Linked DNA regions of Homo sapiens: region 1 is linked to region 2. The links are contacts of gene promoters, found by promoter capture Hi-C in human tissues and cell types (Jung and others, 2019). All regions are on one chromosome and are shown on one strand. The core of a region is centred on a gene start or on the middle of the fragment in contact, and the rest is flanking DNA. Distances in the headings are between cores, read along the strand shown.

Evidence for each region. Contacts are between HindIII fragments. The study calls those that stand out against the background at their distance.
Region 1: the fragment with the promoter of CASP14 here is called in contact with a fragment that was not itself captured in region 2 in 2 of the 25 tissues and cell types used here (lymphoblastoid cells and mesendoderm cells).

Annotation. Positions count from the first base shown.
Region 1 is chr19:15,048,220-15,050,919 of GRCh38, forward strand. It overlaps CASP14 (caspase 14), which reads left to right and starts at 1,261. Exons shown (of 7, transcript NM_012114.3): 1 at 1,261-1,426. The HindIII fragment of the contact is 29,360 bases long and covers 1-2,700 here.
Region 2 is chr19:14,903,870-14,906,569 of GRCh38, forward strand. It overlaps the pseudogene OR7A3P. Among named protein-coding and RNA genes, the nearest start is that of OR7A17, 19 kb to the left of the region's middle. The HindIII fragment of the contact is 6,964 bases long and covers 1-2,700 here.

The DNA.
Region 1 (2,700 bases), core at 11-2,510, 140 kb after region 2:
CTACATGGCTTTAGATAGGACATTTGTGCAAAAAATAGCATTTAGCATGATCTGAAGGTGGAGTTTACGGCCCTCTGATATCAGCTACCCACATAGGTGCAGTTGAAGGGTCAGTGATCTCCACTGGCTTAAACTAAACAAGAGCTGCCTCCTACCTAGTTCCTGAAAAACAACTTTAAGCACCCATTACTATAGTGTCCCACAGACAAAAATGTTATCTGTAAGGAAGCCAGTGGGAGTTTAGTTATGCATTATTTGGCTACGTGACTTGCTAGTGGCGCTTTTAAGATCAACTATAAGTAAGCAATTAAAAGTAAGTAAGCAATTAAACGCAAGGCAGATTAAGTCTGGAGGGCTTAATCAGGTTCGCCTTTGGTTTCACTATTAACATAAGAAATAAAATGAAACAAAATGGCTGAAAAATAATAAGAGGAGGAGGAAGAGAGGAATCATCATGATGCATCAGTTAAGGCAACTGGGCTGGAACATTTTAGGGGTTGTTTGTTTGTTTTTATATTTAAGACAGAGTCTTGCTCTGTCACCCAGGCTGGAGTGCAGAGGCACAATCTTAGCTCGCTGCAGCCTCAAACTCCTAGGCTCAAGCCAGCCTCCTACCTCAGCCTCCTGAGTAGCTAGGACTATAGGTATATGCCATCATTTTTATTATTATTATTATTTTAGTGACAGGGTCTCACTATGCCCCGGCTGGTCTCAAACTCCTCACCTCAAGCGATCCTCCTGCCTTGGCCTCCCAAAGCGCTGGGACTACAGACGTGACCCACCACACCTCACCCCTTATAGGGTTGAATGCCAACTGTGCCAATTGCTGACCTTGGGCAGTCATTTCACCTCTATGAGCCTCAGTTTCTCCATCTGCAAAATGGGAGCAAAAATACTGATCTGTCTAGACTCTTGAAGACTCGATGAGATAATAACTAAGTGAAGTCGGTGTTATCTACACAGTGGAAGGTGAGATGAATAAACTAGGCATAATGATGATGGTAATAACCAGATGGGCTGGCTATGGGATGGGGGTTGGGAGAGGTTGTGGCTGGGCTGGCACAGACATCTGACTCATTTAGACTCTCTGCCTAGGCCACCTTTGCCAGAGGGAGTCCCCTCAGCCTTGCGATCACTCATCCCATTGGCGTTGGCTCCATTTCCACACCACAGCTGTGTGCCAAGGGTGTGTCATGAGGTTTCTTGAGTGACAGAAAACTCACCGACAATAAAGGGCCAGGTGATTGTGCCACCCGATTCATAGACCAGGCTTCTCAGGAGAAACCCCGGGAGATTCCACACTGTCAGCCCCTTCTCCAAGATCAGTACGTGGGCCTGACTCCTCCTCGGTGCCCAGCTCAGTATTGGCAACTAGGAGAGTAGTGAGATTGAACTTGGCCTTGAGGAACAGCTGCCTCTAGAGTTGGTAAGTGATTTGGTGGATATTAGCCTCTCTCTCTCTCTCTCTCTCTCTCTCTCACACACACACACACACACACACACACACACACACGCACATACACACATACGCTCCCTCTCCCTTCATGAATTAATGCTCTGGCCAGTTTTGGCAGAATGGAAGAAATTTCCATCCATCCCCTCTTTCTTTTCATCTGTTCATTTTTTTCTTATTTGTTTACTCAGCAAATTCTCTCCAACACCACCTCTGTGCTCCCTGCCACACTGTTGGCCATGATGGAGACAGAGATAATGAAGTCAGGCTTTCAGTCCTGAAAACTGAGCTGCCAGTTCAGCCATGAGAGTAAGAATCAAAAACACTGCTGTAATTCAAGTAGGAGCAAGCAGAGCTGTGAGAGTCCAGAGAAGGAAGAGGAAAGTTCCAGGAGGTCAAGAGGGATCCTAAAACCTACCTGGGTCACCATTGCTGTTAAGCACCTAGAGCTCTCCCCAGGTCCTTTGCGGATGGGAAAATCGAGTCTCAGAGAGGAGAGTGAGATGCCGAAGGTCACACAGCTGGGAAGGGACTGAGGCAGGATTCGGTTCTGGCTCCAGGGCTATGCTCCTTCCACTTCCTCCCTCACAATCTTTGGCTCCTCTTTCGTCACAGCACTTGCTGTGTGTGTGTGTGAGTGTGTGTGTGTGAGAGAGAGAGAGAGAGAGAGAGATTTAATATTCATTTCTGTCACAGACTAGAGCTACAGAAGGACAGAAAGTCAGGGAGCATGTCTGTCTTACTTAATGGATTCTAAGTGCATAACACATAATAGATACCCAGAAAATATTTGCTGGGTAGGTGGGTGGGTGGGTGGATGGATTGATGGATGGATGGATGGATGGGTGGGTGGGTAGATGGATAAGTAAATAGGTGGATGGATAGATGGAAGATAGAGATGATGGATGAAGGAATGGATAGAAGGAGGGCTAGATGGAGGGATAGTTGGAAGATAGAATAGATGGAGGGATGGAAGACAGAGAGAGATAATGGATGAATGGATGGATGGATGGATGAATGAATGAGTGGTTGGATGAATAAGTGGATGGATAGATAGATGGATGGGTAGATAAATGGGTTGATGGAAGAATGAATGGGTATATGGGATGACTGATTAATAGATGGGTAGACAGACGGATGAATAGATGTGTGAGTGGGTGGATGGATGGATGGATGAGTGGATAGATAGGTAAGTGGAAAGATAAATTGGTGGATGGGTTGATGAATAAAAGGATGGATGTTAAATT
Region 2 (2,700 bases), core at 111-2,610:
ACATCTGGGTGATGCAACCTGCATAGGTGATGACTTTACTCTGTGTCCGGATGTTTGACAGTGTCTTTGGGACTGTGGTGGAGGTAACACAGATGTCTACAAAGGACAGGTTAGAGAGGAAGAAGTACATGGGGGTGTGGAGGTGGGAACCAGAGCAGATGGCCAGGATGATGAGCAGGTTTCCAAACACAGTTGTCAGATACATGGAGAGGAAGAGTCCAAACATAACGGGCTGCAATTCTGGTTCCTCTGAAAGTCCCAGAAGAAGAAATCCTAAAATCCTCGTACCATTCTCTGGTTCCATGTGGTTGAGGTGACTACCAGTCAGAGAAAGAGAACATGACCAATTTTTACTCAAAAGGGCATCACTCACATTGTTGAAAGACAACCAGTTATATTTTGCAGCCAAGACATTAATTTCTATATTTTGTGTATGGAACTTTTCCCAGTTTCTGTGCTCCTCAGAGCTGTCTCTGATTGAAAATTCTTGTGCTATTCTCAACCTTTCCCTAAGAGGTTGTATATTCTTTAATGAGAAATTCTTCTACGCACTTGTGTAATATTGATTGTATGCTGACCATGTTCCAGGAACTGTCTAGGTAATGAGTGTAGGGTGCAGAGAAACTGATAACCTTACTATCCAATGATGGAGAAAGACAATGAGCTGATAAAGACATCATCATCTGTTGCGTTAGATGGTGCTTAGAAGAAAATGAAAGCACATTAAAGAGAATGGAGAGGGGTTGCTATTTTTTATGAGTGTACAGGCAAGACCAGCAGACAAGGTGACATTTGAACAGAGACCTCAAGGAAGAGGCGGTTGGGAGCCCAGAGGATATTTGGCGAAGTCTGTGCCTGACAGAGGGAATGACTAATGCAAAGGCCTGAGGAAGGTGCTTGTTTCGGAAAATCAAGGCTCAAATAGAAGCCAGCGTGTTGAGGGCAATGAGAAGGAGGGAGAGTGATCAGAGATGGTGTCAGGAGTATTGAGGAACCAGGTGGTCTCCCTGCTGCTGTTGAAACTTCAAGACACTGACAGCCTCGTCTCCCCATGTGGTTCTGAGCCCTCTATTAATGTGGCCCCCTAAGGACGTAAACAGGGCAGCAAATTCCAGCCCAAAAGCTTCCCATGCACATGTAAATGTGGGGCTCCATTTTATATCATCACTTTGTGCCTGGTATTTAACAAAATACATGAGAATTTGCTGAATAAACAAAGAGATGCATGAAATAGGCATGATGTACACAGGTGGTTGATGAGAGACTGTGACGAAAACAGCTTCCTCGTTTCTGGCAATGTTCAATCCTGGTTATAGACCCCGATGCCCAGAATAATTCATAATTAATAAAAGTGATATCTTTATAGGGTCAAGACATCTTACAGATTGAAGACCCCAAGAGAAAATGAAGAAAGGGAATAAACCCACACTTCACAAAAGGAATCACACAAAGTCCAACAAAAGCGGGGGGCGGTTAAAGATGCAATTGTGAAAGACATGTGTAAATTGTAGTAAATGCAAAGCAATGTATGTAAAAAACTTGGCATGTCTCATTTTTGTTCTTAAATGAATGGTTATCACTGGTGATGAGATGAGACTGATGTTGCTCTTCCACCTCTCATTTACCTGTTTTGTAATGTGAAACATCTATCATCACAAAAAAAAGTTTGGAGTTTTGCATCTACTCTGTACCTGCTGTTGGACCTTGAAAAGCCTATAAAGTCATTCTAAATTTTTAAAAATTTTTTATAAATACATAATAGTTGCACATATTTATGGGGTACATGTGATACTTTGATATAAGCATACAACGCATAATGATCAAATATGGGTAACTGGCATACCTGCCCTCTCAAACATTTATCATTTCTTTGTATTGGAAACACTCGTATCTTCTCTTCTAGCTATTTGGAAATATATAATAAATTATTAAGTATAGTCATTCTATTGTGCTGTGGAACAGTAGATCTTATTCCTTTCATCTAACTGTAGAACTTATTCCTTTCATCATCAAAAAGCATACACATAGACCAATGGAACAGAAGAGTAAACCCAGAAATAAATTCATGCATTTACAGCCAACTCATTTTTGACAAAGGTGCCAAGAACACACATTGGAAAAAGACAAGCTCTTCAATAAATGGTGGTAGGAAAACTGGATATCCACATTCAAGAGAAATGGAATTAGATCCCTATCTGTCACTACATAGAAAAATAATTTTAAAATAGAAAAAAAGACATAAATGAAAGGCTCAAAACTATGAGATTCATAGAATAAAACATAAGGGAAATTCATGGCATTGATCTAGGCAAGTAATTTTTTTGCATTTTTAAATTTATTATTGCTATTTTTAAAAATTGTCATTTTTATTGTGGGTACATAGAAGGCATGTATATTTCTGGAGTACATGGGATGTTTTAATACAGCTATATGATTCATATCAATCACATCAGGATAACTGGGGTATCCATTGCCTCAAGCATTTATCAATCCCTTGTGTTAGAAACATTCCAATTCCACTCCTTTAATTATTTCAAAATATACAATAAATTATTGTTGACTACAATCCCCTTGTTGTGTTATTAAATATTAGATCTTGGCCAGGCACGGTGGCTAATACCTCTAATCCCGGCACTTTGGAAGGCTGAGGCAGGCAGATCGCTTGAGGTCAGGAGTTCGAGACCAGCCTGGTCAGCATGG